Linked DNA regions of Homo sapiens: region 2 is linked to region 1. The links are contacts of gene promoters, found by promoter capture Hi-C in human tissues and cell types (Jung and others, 2019). All regions are on one chromosome and are shown on one strand. Each heading gives the region's core, a stretch centred on a gene start or on the middle of the fragment in contact. The rest is flanking DNA. Distances are from core to core; before and after follow the strand shown. Region 1 holds the start of TOX (thymocyte selection associated high mobility group box). Region 2 overlaps TOX (thymocyte selection associated high mobility group box).

Region 1 (7,416 bases), core at 2,731-5,230:
CCACTGAGAACAGTGAAGCCCATTATTTCTCCTCCCACTGCAGGCCGAGGTCACCATCCCTGTCATTAGCCATGTCATAACATAATTGTATTACTACTCCTTATGTGGGCAGATACTGAGCAATAACTGAACACATCACATCGTTGTAAAAATGAAAAAGTACCACTTCTTTGTCCTATCTTAGCATAAAACCAGTGAAAACAATCTTTGGAAATGACGCTGCACTAAGAAACTGAAAAGAACTGTTATTACTCTGTAGGTATATATTTAAACTGATGATCTGACATCTTTAACTAGAATAGAAAACAAGACTATATCACTACAGAACTCCAATTGTAAGCTCATTTAATCCAATTTATTTTGGTAGCATTCAGCTCAATTAAGGGATACAATGTTACTTAAAATAGTCTAATTAGATGAAACTCCACTATGGTACTCATCTTTCAATGTCTGAAATATAACCATGCATTAGGCTGCAAGAGGTGAATACTGTTAACTCCAGCCTCCATGTGTCTGTCCAGTCTATGAGCTACACTGCTATTTCCAACACTGACCTATATACAGCAACATGCCATCCGTTCTGGCTGTTTGTGTAAGAGATGCCTCACACACTTGCCTTAACCAACATCATTCGCATTGTTCCCACAATGGGCTATGTGAAAATGGAGGCTACTTTGCATAGTGATATGTTCATAACGTGTATTAGTCTTACAGTAGAGCAATACTAGATTAAACCGTTTCCAAAAATGCCTCCTCCAGAGTTTATTAACTGAAAAATGTAAGTAGCATTTTGGCAATCTATAGAGCAGCAGTGCCGGAAAGTGTCAGCAGAGTAAAACAATCACATTTTAGTTTAGAAAGCTTCAGGAAGAGAATATTCATTTTCTCCATTAGAGTCTCTTCTGACATTGAAAAAAATGTCACCGGGAAACTGTAGCTACAGTTGTAGGATTCTAAAGCACAGATAGATACTGGTTCCGCTGGGATTTAGCACACCAACTTTAAATAAGCAAAGTGTTGACAGGTTTAAAATAAAGATAATTAGTAATTTATGATCTTATCACCCTATTAAAAACAAATCACCTGACAAACTGACTGCTATTTGTAGTAAGCTACATATTCATTACGCCTCCGAAGGAAGCAAGATTTACTTTGCAGTATTGTTCTTTTGGGGATGTCTGATCCAACTTGTTTTAATAAATGTAGGCACAGATTTCTTACTTCACCTTTTCCAAACTTCTGTCCTTCTTCCATTTCCCTGCAAATCCACTCATGTCATTGCAAAAACAAATGCTAGTTGACTGCATTATGCACAACTACAATTGTGGAGCTGGACAGAAATTTTGTACCAATGCTAATCATGGTGGAGTGAAAAAACTCAAGTGCCTGGGATTTGTGGGGCCTAGAAAACTATCCAGTACATTTAATATAATCGGGACCAGTGACAAATATATCTGATGGACTGCTACACAGAGATGGGCCAGAGATGTCCCTGGAGAAACATTTCCATGAAGTCTTCTTCCACTATTAGAAACATGTCTTATGACTTTGGATTTTAAAAAATCTATTATTCTCTGGATAAGTTAAATAGAAGACTCGCAACTAGTCTACAGAAAGGGTGCCTAATTTGCATTTAAAAAGAACAGTTTGCTTCTTATACACGGGGTGACTTAAAAGGAACTTCAATGAGCTAGTAAAGAAATTCTGAATACTTTCTAAATTAATTTATTCAATTCACAGCACAACCCACTAAAATTATTTAAAGCACTTAATTGGAAAATGATTTAATATATTGAAGTAATTCCTGATTTTCCAAAGCATTTAACTTTTAAATTAAATCTGACCCTACTTATCACAAGAACGAGGAGTGAAATGTGTATCCAAGTCATTAACTTCTTTTTGGGGCCTAAAATCACTGATAAACTTAATAAGATTTGTCCAGTCTCATTGCCAAAATAGTTCTGAGCTTTTGGTTCCGGTAACTACAGTGGAATAAGTCTTTACTCTCCAAGATAGGGCTGCAACTTTATTATTTTTTATTAGCAATAGTATTGGTGTCATAAGCAAAATAAAACGTAACACAATACTTGAGTGTACAGACAAAACAGATTTTAGACTAAAAGAACTATGTCACCAGCAAATAATGAAACTTCATCACACAAACTCCTATGCGCTTGCCAAAGTTCCCCGTACCTTTCAACTTGCCCGTAGCTGAAGGGCTCCCTGTACAATGGAAGCCCTTCTGCCTTGCTCAAGACTGGATGTCCCTCTTTTCTAACTTGCCTAAACACCATCGGCACACAGCACAGTCCTTTGAGTGGGTCTCACACTGGACACAGCATCGAGGAGCTTCTCCACGGGGAAGTGTGTGTGTGAGAGCCTGCCTGTGTGTCAACACTGTCCAAGACTCGGAGCTGCGACTCGGTCGCGTGGTGCGGAGTCCAGGGCTGAGAAGGCAGCGCACTAAATATCTCTGTATCAGGTAAAAAAGCCGTTTGGTGATGACTCGCCACCAGGCAAATGTTGGGAGTCCCAACGATTTTTCCCGTGGAATGCACCGAGGGTCGCCATGGATGTGCCTGCAGGGGCTGTGAGTATCAGGCAGATTTATCACCAAGCGAGAGTTGGGCGTCTAAAAGGCCCGCCCAGCGTTTTAGAGAACTCAATTCTCTCTGCCAACGTTCATCCAACGGGACTGCTTAGACACGTCCAACTAGCCCTAGGCGTGGGCAGTCGTGCCCCTGCGACCACTCTGGGGGACCGGTCCCTGCGTGTCCTCCCTCTCTGGGATGAGAGAGTTCGAGAAGCCGGGAGAGTAACCCCCTCCCTCGTACCCCCTGACTGTCCTATAGGTGGACCCAGCCGAACTCCGCAGCAGCCCAGGCCAGCGCCCCACCTCCGGGTCACCGGCATGATCCGCCTCTCCCCGGGCCCCCGCGGCCCTGGCACCCGAGGTCAGCGGGCCGTGGGTACAGCTCAGCCGCGGACCCTGCTCCGCGAGTGCGGGAGCTTTGGACTTGAACGCGACGTGCTCGCCCGGCTCCCAACAAACTTGCAATTTCCGCGCGCACCCCTTAAACAGGAACTGTTCCCCAAACCTTGACCCAGCTACCCCGCTGTGCTCTGGCCCGCGGACCTGTGTCCGAACCCGGGCTCGGCTGCCGGAACCGGTTTGAGAAAACAAAAGAGTTGTGGGGCAGTTTTCCCTGTGGGGGGCAGGGGCGCCTCCCAGGTCCCTGCACCCCGACTCCCGGCTGCTCCCCTGGCAACTAATCCGGAGAAGGGAAGTGGTGCCACGAGCCCCCACTGCCCGGGGAGGGAGGGAGAGAGAAGGGGGAACTGGGAAATAAACTGAATTCTCTTACTCTGCCTCCGTTCCTGGACCCCAGACACACCCCCAAAGTATTCCACGGTTTTCTCTTATTATTTTTTTAAACGCCCCCCGGCAAACCTAGGCAGGGATCCTTAGCCGCGAACAGCAGGAAGGAAAGAATCCGAGCAAATCGTGTCACTTTCCGCACAATCGCGGTGTTTGGCAAGCCCCCGGAGCTACTCCACAATATTTACTACCCAAGCGCACGCAGGCTGCAGCGGGCTGCGAGCCGAGCGCGCCCGGGACCGGCCTCCGCCAAGCCGGCCCCGCCGCGGCCCGGCCACCGCCGCTCCCCTCCCAGGATCAAGCAGCAAGAACACGGTGGAAACAAAAGCAGAGCGTTCACCTTGTTGCAATAGTAGGGGTCCAGGCAGGGAGAAGGTCCCAGACAGGGAGCGTCGGGCGCAGCGGCGGGCTGGGCTGGAGGTGGATAAAATCTTACGTCCATTTCACTCTCACATCAAGCAACTCCTTTTCTTTTTCCTTTTTTAAAAAAAAGTGTTCAGCAAAACAAGCTTAGACGGAACAGAGTGAGGTGTCTGGGCTCAGGAGTAAAAGAAACACCTTCCTTCCCTCACATCCGTTTGTGGTTTGTTTAAGAAGAAGAGGAAAAAAAAAAAAAAGAGGGGGGAAAAGCGCTCAACTCTCCCCCAAGCCGCGGCGCGCACCCGTCGGCGCCGAGCGCGCAGCCTGCTCCACCGCCGCCTCTTGGTCCCGCCGCCGCCGCTGCCGCCGCCGCCGGGCAGGTAACTTCATGCGCTCATTGTCCCCCCCGCCCGCCCCCCCATCCCCGCCTCCCGCGCCCCTCGCAGCCCGGCACACGCGCTCGGGCTCTAGGTACTGGGCGTTTTATTGGAGATTCTGAGTTGTTCTGCTTGTAGTTTATTTTCTCCACCTTGGAGGCCCGGGATGTGGGGGGTGGGGGGGTGGGGCGGGGATCCAGAAGGGACAGGGCGGGAGGGGGGCGAGCGTCCCGGGCCGGGCGGGGTAGGGAGCGCGGCCGGACGCGGGCTCGTCAAGGCCCAATGGCTGCTGTTCGGAACCAGAGGCCGGGGACCGGAGAAAGGAGGAGCGGAGAAGGAGAAGGAGGAGAGCACGGCCTGGCTGGGACAGAAGCGGTGGGACCCTGGGAGGCCTCCGCTGTGCCCGTGCCGCGCTCCTCGGGACCAGCGCGTCGCACACAAAGGGGCTGCCGAGCCAGAGCCACCAGCGGCCTCAGGGCACCGTGGGGAGCGCGCAGCTAGGGGGCGCTGTGGCGCACCCCGCCCCGCAGCCCCGCCCCCGGCCCTCCCCGGCCCCACCCCACTCCCACCGCCCTCTCCGCGGCCGTCCCCACCCCTATCTCCGCGACCCCCACTCCTCCTCGGCTGTTCCCCAACCCTGTCACTGTGCTCCCCTCCCTACTCCCGGCCCGTAGTGGAGGTGACTTTCCTGCGCAGCGCCGCTTCTGAGGGCGGAGAACCCACAGGGAGTGCGACCCCTTTGCACGCTGTGAGTGGGCAACTGTCCGAGGGACTCGAGCCGATCGAAGGGTGAGGACCAGCTCGCCTGGGGGTGGACGGCCTGGAAAAGCCGCCCCTCTTTGGCTTCCCTCTGCCGCCTGCAGCCCGCACCCCTCCGAGATTCGTGCCCCACTGGACGGTTTGCGAAGGCTGAGGCTGCCTTGGGGACTCACAAAAGACCACAGGGGTGATTCGAAGTGTAAATAGGGAAACAATCATCAGCACACAATCCGGCTAAAGGGATAACATATGAGTTTGCTTGTTGTCCTTCATGGGATTCTTCTCTTTTTATAGCTGGACGCCCTATAGGGCTCTTGGCAGTCCACGAAAGACCTGGAGTCCGCCTCCCCATTTCTCCGGTCGGTGAGTGGCAGGAGGAAATCGCCAAACATGTTTTCCCGCTTTGCCTCCCCAACTCGGAAACTTGCAACTTGCCGTGTCCTGGAGGTTGAGACAATTTGGGGTCTCTTGGCTGCCGTCCAACAGATTTATCTCTGAGGGCAGTGTCCTTGGTGAGAGGTCCAAGTAGGTGTGGGCGACATTGTCCTCCATCTCATGAGGGAGCAGCCCTGCACACTAGGGCCCAAAACTCTGCGAAGGAGCTTGGAAGTTCTTCATCCGTTCCACTTGTTTTGCTACTCCACACACCCTTCTAGGACATGTTGATTGCCAACTGCTCTGTGCAGCTTTCCCATAGCTGTCTGTTCCCGTGCATTTCGGAGCACCAAGCAAATACGAGCAGAGAGACCTGGAAAAAAAAATGATGAAGACAGTATTAATGATAAAATTAACATGGCTGAGTGAATTGTCAATGCAAGTTCCTTTACTAACTCTTTGTTAAGTTTTGCTTTGTACTCCTTACATCCTCTTTCTCTTAAGCCATTGTTTTAATTTCTTCTCGTTATCATTTTTAAAAGTAACAGAAATACAGCTTTCTTCCTACCTTCACGATTGACTTGGTGGAGGTTGGGTTGCAAAGAGGAAGCAGTAAGAAAAAATAATTATTCTATACATTCACAAGTCCTTCAAGGCACAAAATAAAAGTAAGAAATAGAAAATATGTCCTTTCTCCTAATAAAGGTCTTTATAATAAAATTTAAATGAAGTTTTGTGTTTCATAACAGCTTCCCAAATACTGTTGTAGATACTAAAATGTGCCTGTATGTATTTCCTTCCACAATAATAATAGTAATAATAAACTTTTTTAGGTCCAAATTAAACATTTCTCAGCTTAAATTTCTATCCTCAATCCAACATTTATTATATCAAAACTTGATTTTTAAAAATAAAACTTTCTTGGAATTCATCATTGATGTCTGTTTGATGGCCTCGTGAACATCAGGAAGATGAAATGAAATGGTTCAAGACTGGAACAATACCATTATCTGCATCTTGACTCCTGGGAGATAATGATATCTCCTGCTTTCCTCTACAGACCTACCAGTTTTCTCTGCTTTAAGGGAAAATCCAAATGCATGAGACCTGTGCATTCTTCTACATAATCAAGAGTCTGGTTTCTTCCATCGGAGTGTATGGAGTTAAAGTGGTATACTGTACATGGCATGGTGTGATAGGTGGGAATATGAGCTACTGGGGGAAAAAGTTCTTACTTCTAGCCACTTATACAAAGAGAGGCCATCTCAGTGTAATCTGAAAAAATGCTCACTTTATAATGCTGTATCCAAGGCCCATCAAAAACTAAATGGATGTATTTGTACTAAAAGTTGGGGAAAGTTGAATATCTAAACCTCTGAGCAAATCTTTCTTAATTTAGAAAATAAAATAGAGCATCATTGTAATACTTTTCAGTTTCCTGGACATTCAACTCCACATCATGGATAAATAAAATAGTTATTTGTCCATTCACTCATTCATTTGTACATTAATCAACAGAGAGAGTGGTGAAAAACACTAATGCTTTGTATTATTTATAGGTTTAAAATACAAAACAAATTACTTAAAATGGTTCCTGCTCTAGATGTAGTCTTTCAGAGTAGTATTTTCCAAACTAGTCTGGTCAGTGAAGTCATCTTAGCAGTTTAGAAAAATACTCATGCCAGAGCCCCACACGCACAGATTCTGATTCAGTTCTTTTCAGGTAGGGCCTGAGCACAGGAATTTTTAAAAGCTCTCCAGTGGCTTTAATTTTCAGAAAAGATTGAGAACCACTGGCCTAAAAGGAAAGATAAGGTAGTCTAGAAGGAAAGAGTCCTTAACAAAGGAAATGTTAAAAGTATGAAATTTTAGTAGATAGGCTGGATTGTCATTTTGTGTTGATCCCCATAAGAGGACATTGAGGATCACCACTCCCAAAACCTCATCACCTACGCTGCCTTTTAGAGATGGAGTTGGCAATTTGCCCATTTACTGTCAGTAAACTTGCATGACTTGTAAAGGTCCAGGTTACAGTTTATTCACCTGACCTAGGAACTTTATGTACTCTAGTTACCAGAAAATGAGTGCCTGTAAACAAAACGTGTCTTTACCAGTGCTGATGTAATGCTATCAGTACCTACTTGTGAAATGCCTACTATATCGTGG
Region 2 (7,157 bases), core at 1,241-3,740, 270 kb before region 1:
TCTGCCGTGTCTAAAAGGGTAGCTGCTAACCACATATGGCTATAGGCCACTTGTAATGTGGCTAGTACAACTGAGCAATTGAATTTCTAAATTTAATTTTAATTGGTTAAATTTAAATGGAAGCAGTCACACATGACTAGAAGTCACTGGATTAGACAGCACAGTATTTTGTACTGGACACTGCTCTAGAGTACATACAGTATTTGTAAAGTTACCAGGGTGCTAAGACTGGAGAGTTAAATTTTATTCCATCATAATCTTTAGAATATGGAAGAAACCATATAATGCACAAATGTGAATTCCTTATGATGACAAGCACATTGAAAGTAAGGAGCAGGTCCCATTAATCTTCACGTCCTTCATAGCATCGGTACAGTGTTTTACATGCAATGGATCATTATACATTTCTGCTCTGGTATTCTACAGCAGTGGGCAGAGGCTTAGACTTATGAGGCAAAGAAAATTTGAAACAAACATAGAAATTGTATGAAAATCATAGCAACTAAAACATGGCTGAGCTGAGGCCCTAAATGTCGCCCTGATTACCCACGCACTGATTTCACCATCAGTTAAAGCACTAACGAATACATAAGTGCACAAATACCTAAATAAATATTATTTATAAATAAATATTACACATAAGCTTTACACAGATACACGTGCTTCATGTAACTTACTCGTAAGACATAGATTTATTTCTCAAATCCCTAGAGGTGCCTGAAGGCTTCTGGTAATTCACCCCTGTCATGTCTTATTGGTTAATTATAGAGATGTATTTAACTTATTTATCACAAGAAAACAATAATCTTTCACTTTAAAAAAGCATGTGCTAATGGTGTTGCTTAGATAACAGTATTTCTTAAGAAGCCAGAGCACAGGAGTTAAGACTATCAAAGAAAGAGAATCACTGATATTGAAATGTCCCTGGAGAAGTTAGAAACGTCTATAAGCATATTTAAAATAAACTGCCGCGGTCCCAAAGCCTTTAATGGAGCTGGGAGAGCTGTTTAATGCACACTATCTTGCAGTAATCGCTGTAGTTTAAAATAGATTTTAATCAAGCACCATCTGCATAATAGGCTGAACAAACAACATAGAACTCCACTTATAACTCTTATCATATAAAGTAAATATTATAAACTCCTCTCCATAGAAACAGGGCATATAACAGCACTTTTTGTGATGTTTCAGTGAGTGAAAATTTTGCTACTTAAATTCATTCTCTCTTTTCTAAACTATGCCATCTAAAATCCCCTTATGAGAATAAATTCAAATAAGCATGGAAAGTAAGTCATCTAGTTACTGTGAAATCAGCAAGGCTGTAATACTTCTTTCATTTTACAATTGGGTTTATTATTATCTTTAATAACGATACACTCTATGACTCAAAACATCAATTATAGAAAAATGCATATGAAGTGCTATACTTTTGAAATGATTCACAAGTGTGGGGCATTGTATCAGTGTCATAGTTTGTAAAGCAATTTCATTTTTAAGGATCTTTGATTCTGCCAAACATAGCTGAGTATGATTTTTGAATGAGTTTAGCAAAGGCACTCAGCGGCCTTATGTGAAATAGGAAGTCTGGGCTAATGTCCAGAAAAATCACTTTAAAGTGATTTTTTAAAGAGAAAAAAGGTTGGTTGTTATTTTATACACCTACTGGTTAAATTTATCAATTTTAGGAGATCCACTTGATCTTTTCTAAATTCACTGATGTAGGGAAATATGTTTACTTCTTATTCTTTTGGATTGAGGGCTTTTACAGGCTTACAAAGAAGGCAAGCTGTTGAGGTGGGGACCCGCTGAATAAAATGCTAGGCGGCTATGTTAAGTCTCATTCTGTTTTTATTCCATGAATTAATTAAGTATGCTCAGTCATCTAGGGTATGTCTATATCCTGGCATAATTATTTACTTGAATAAATTTTAGGAAAGATGATTTGGAACCAGGTACTAAATGGCTGACTAAATTTTATCATTTTCTCCTGAACTAGTTTATTAGGCTCAGCCTTAACGAATAGAATACTTTTTTTTTAAAATAAATAAGGGTCATACATTAGTTTAATTGCTGTGATCTAATACATACTTTAAAAGTATCATACACATTATACTATATAAAGTGAACAGTTACAATATAAGTACAGTTCAATGATGACAATACCAGACTTCCAAGTCCCAGTTTTAAGTATTCTGTCCCATTGCTAGTTAGATAAAGTAACCTGACATTTGGTTCTAACACTGTTTGATTTCACTTAATATTTGTAGAAACCTGTCTGTTTCTCATTTCTACTTTATTCCAGGAGTCTTCTTGTCTTCAGAGCAGTGGTAAATAAAAACTCCTACTCTAAAGGCTTATTTAATTGCTGCTCTAGTGATTTATCCTATTTGCTTTGAGAAAAAAACCTCCTGCTTCTGTCTAGTGTGGCAGAGCACATGCATTGATGAACTAGCAAATTAGTAACAAACTCTTAAAGGCAAAAACGAAGTGAACTCAGAGACGACGCGTGTATTAAAGGCAGCTTTCATACTGAAGATATTGTTGAACCTCGTGTGAATTTGAGTTAAGAGTGCAATAGACAGAAGACAAACCCCATGCCTTACCAAAAGCAAGATGTGTAATGGGAGTGGTCCTGTTAAATCAAGACGTAAAAGATTAGACTGTCAGTGCAAGGGTGAAGTAACATTCCCTTGTATGTGACCTCCCAGAACATGCAAGAATGGCTGCTCTGGAACCTTGTTACAAATGCAGAGTGGAACAAAATCTCTTGTGTTCATTCACAAACAAAAGCCAGCATTTGCAAGATTTGTAGCCTGAACATACTCTATGTGGGTGGTCTGAAAAATTCAGGCCAAGTGTGGTTCTTGATTCTAATGGTTCAAAATATGTGGCAGAAACAAATATAAATCATCCCCAGAGAAATCCACCTTTAAACAAGCTCTAAAAGAATTCTTACAAAGTTTTCATAAATATTAATTCTCATTTCAAAAGTACAAAAAGCAAAATGAAACAAGCTATTAAAACCAACATATTCTGACTTCAAAATACTTCATGTATTGAAATTAGCAAAAGAGGGTATAAAACAAATATGTTGAACATGCTTACAAGAATAAAAGAGATTAAATACATGGGTAAAGAGCAAGCAACTAAAGAAAGAAGTCCAAACTCATTTGAGAAGGAACCAAATGAAACCAAAAATATAAAATATTTGAGATTAAAATTGCAATAGACCATTTCAGATTAGGTATAGCTGAAAAGAGAATTACGAGCTGGAAAATAAGTTAAATCAGAATGTAATACATAGGGGCAAGGAAGTAGAAAATATGAAAAAGAGTCATGGAAAGGAGAAAGTCTAATATTCATCCCCTGAGAATAACAGCATGAGAAGGGAGCAAGAATGGGATAGAGGCAGTATCTGAAAAAAATAAGGAATGAAAATTTCCCCAAAATGCTGATAGACAGAAATGATTACAATCGGAATGCATGCAAAGAAACCCACACATATCACCATGAAGCTGCAGGACACCAAAGACAAGAGAAGATCTCAAAAGCAGTCAGAGAGTAAAGTCAGGTTACTTTCAAAGGAAAGACAGTCAGGCAGTAAATTCTCAAAAGCAATAGTGAAAACAAGGATTCAGTGAAATAATATAATATCTTCAAAACGCTGAAAGAAAATAACTGCCAATCTAGAATTCTATACCTAGCAAATGTGTTTTTTAAGGTAAGCATGTTCCCTGCAGACCTTCATGAAAGAACATTTTAAAGGCATAAAGAAAAAGATGTCAGGTGAAAGAAATATATATGTGAATAAATCCAAAGGAAAAATAACTTCATAAAATAATTAAAATAGTGTTTCATGAGGTTTATTCAGTTACAGAATTCAATTAAACTATAATTAGAATGAACAACAATAACAGCTCCCAATATAAATTGAACGGAAGGTGTATGTAGTTAAAGTAATCTAAGAAAAAAGGTAAAGATATTGGTAAATTTTAGACCTCTATATAGCTGTATTCCAGGGACAGCTACTGAAAGAAGAGAAAGAATATAAAATCTCTAATCTCAAAATGGGAAATTATGTAATGAGAAAAATAAGAGCAATCTTAAAGAAGATGAGGAAAAAAAAGAAACATAAAATATTTGTGGCATAAACAGAAAGTAACATACTTAGAAAAACAAGCCTATTTTCATATTTATAGTAAGGTAAATGCAGTAAAGATTTCATTTTAAAGTAAAAGCTCATTTAACTACACGAAATTTATAAGAGACACTCAGATAAAACATGGATATTTTCAACAGAAAAGCAGAAAGTAAAAGGATAGAAAAATATATAATGTGATTCTTACCCACAATTTCCTTAAAGAGAAAACTGTGCCAAAAATGTGATTGTAATGTCAGATACTTTATGTGTCTTAAAGTATCTCTTATATTACAAATACGGGATTACAGGCTTAGAACCACAAGCTGCCTAAGTTTGTATTTCTTTGATGCTTTACTGTGTCTCATTATGACTTAAGGCTGTCAACACAGTTTCCTAGCAATCAAAATCGCGGGTAGTGTTTATAAGGTGATAATTTATTTTACTGATGTATTTACAATATTCCTGTCTGTCAAAACAGACTTATTTCATTTAATTGTTCAATTAGATGAGCTGGAATCAATATATAATTGCTTAAAGACAGCACAAAGTGTTAAGAGGAAAGCTTTAAAAGCTTTTTCTGGTGTGGAACTAAATATTCTTGTTTAGTTCACTTGTTAGAAATGATTTAAATGATCTTTTTGACTTAATGCTATTTCACATTTAACTGGAGCTGTTGCACTACAACATTCCACATAAATCCTACTCACATATAAAGGAAAAAATCCAGTTTAATCCTTAACTGTAATGAAGAATGCTTTAACATTTTCATCAGAGGATTTTTCTAGCTTAAATAAATATAATAATATAACTCAAATAAATGAGTAGGAGGATTTGAATTGGAGACAAGGTGAAAAACAGTGCATAGAATTGGAATGAAGGGTTACTTTTCTTGAGATGGAAAATACACTTAAACTTAACATGAATTCGTATGAATGTTTGTGCAGATAAAAAAGTCATTTTAATGGGTGCAGTCTTAGAAATCAATCCCTAAACTTTCCTGCATTGATAATTCAATAATCTATCACTATAGAATATGAGTTTTACTATGCAATGCTTACACAGTCCACTAAAATGAAGCGTTATAAATTATTTCAAGATGTGGATATTGAATGATTGAATAGGATACCCACTGGCAAAGTTTCATATCAGCATGGAGACATGTAAATTCATGCTTTAGCAAAATTACAAAATATGGACCTAACAGGTTAATAGCAAATGGCAGAACCCATGAATGTTAATTCTATGAATTTCAGATTTCTACCTACTCTTCTACTCATATAAGTGGAAGACTGTGAAAAATGTTATTGTAATTAGGAATAATCCGGTATACAATTTACTGTCAGAGGATGCTACTAATTTTGCATTTAATTTCCTGAAATGTCAGGAATGAATACTGATAAAGACACAATCCAGATACAAAAATTGATCTTTACTATGAGCAGAACATTAATTTTTTTCGCCTTACAATATAGTACATATCATCTGTGTTTAGCAAATTGACTTGAATTATTCATGCATAATCAAAATCTAAATCACTGTCCACAAACAAATTATTAGTGTTCACATTTGGGTTCAGGTACTCATTGGCCATTAGGTGTAATCTAACAGCCAATGAGTACCTGGAGCCATTGGAATAACCTGTATTTTCTGAAGAAAATTATTGCCCTGGAAATGGTCAGCTAAAGGCAAGGCTTTCAGCAACCCAGTCAATTATTTATGAATATCAATTAGTTTCTTCCTGCCTTTTCACCTAACTCATGAGAGGCTGACTCACTGACAACAGGGAGAGACAGTAAGGATGGAGGGATTGGCTTGGGCAGTGTTAGATTCTGCAGCTGTTCTAAAACGTACTTGGGATTTGTTTCAGTCAGGTATGGTAAGACAGAAAACATGGAAATGATGATTGTGAGGAAGAAGTTTCCATTCATAGATCCCTGGAAAGAGAAGGCACAGCAGAGCCCACAGGGCCACCTAGGGAAGTACCCAGGTTGGCCAGGAGACAGAAAGAGGGAGAAGACAGAGCATGCCCAGAGCCTTTACTGGGGATTTTGTGGGCAGGAATAGGCAAGGCAGGCTGGCATGCTGAGTAAGCCTAGGACTGGATAGTTTGAATAACTTTGGCAGGCTATGGGCTGTAAGGAGTGATCCCTAGTTGTCTGACACTTAGCCTAGGGGCGATGTAGGGTAGAGGGAATACTGGCTTCATATGTGAGAGTTTTTAAAGGAGATGTTTTGGGGTGCAGCTGTGAATTGTTGGCTTGTTTATAGAAAGGGGGCTAGCAGAGTGTCGTCTGCAATCTCTAAAAATTAGCTAGCCCTGAATTTCCAGGATTAAGGCTCCAAATGCCAGAACATCAAGAATACAAACAATAGGAAAATATAGTCAATGCAGCAATCTTATCTTTGTCATCAGGCTAAATAAATCGATGAATCACTATCTGGACTGAAAAAATTTAGCGAAGCTACTAGAAAGTTAACCATGTATATCAGGATTGCACAGCGCTGCTTTTGGTAGCATGTTTACAGTTTAATTTTCCAAAAACAAAATTCTCACAATGGTAAAAAGAAGAAAAGGTGGCTGACATAAAACCCATCTTCCTATTCAGATAACTTAAAAGAATGGCTCTGCTGGTGACAGACACACAAATAAACAACTATATTGGTAAGGCGTTAACAAAAGGTATGCAATGAATCACCCAGGAAAGGAGTCATCTAATATCCCTGGCACTTACTTTCCACGTCCTCAATATGAAATGGTTGGGTCAGGTGGCCACAAAGGTTTCATGTAACATCATCACCATACATCTCCTCTCTCTCTCTGTCTCTCTCTCTCTCTCTCTCTCTCTCTCACACACACACACACACACACACACACGACCTTCATTGTACCCCAGTATACTGCCTTCTTAAAATGGTACATTGAATATACAGGCCCAACCTTCTGTGGGCACAAACAACTTTTACGCTTAACACATCTATATTTAAAGGATTTCTCAGGGGCTTTAAAGTGTAATTG

What was found. The method cuts DNA at HindIII sites, captures the fragments that hold promoters and counts their contacts. A contact is called where the count stands out against the background at its distance.
Region 2: a contact is called between a fragment that was not itself captured here and the fragment with the promoter of TOX in region 1, in 2 of the 25 tissues and cell types used here (lymphoblastoid cells and small bowel).

What each region holds. Positions count from the first base shown.
Region 1 is chr8:59,115,167-59,122,582 of GRCh38, forward strand. TOX (thymocyte selection associated high mobility group box) reads right to left here and starts at 3,981. Exons shown (of 9, transcript NM_014729.3): 1 at 3,720-3,981. The coding sequence starts at 3,821. It overlaps TOX-DT (TOX divergent transcript), which reads left to right and starts at 4,044. Exons shown (of 3, transcript NR_149031.1): 1 at 4,044-4,119; 2 at 4,791-4,905; 3 at 5,170-7,416. RefSeq lists silencers at 618-667, 4,506-4,725. The HindIII fragment of the contact is 9,409 bases long and covers 2,375-7,416 here.
Region 2 is chr8:58,844,197-58,851,353 of GRCh38, forward strand. All of the region lies in intron 4 of TOX (thymocyte selection associated high mobility group box), which reads right to left. Among named protein-coding and RNA genes, the nearest start is that of NSMAF, 190 kb to the left of the region's middle. The HindIII fragment of the contact is 4,434 bases long and covers 274-4,707 here.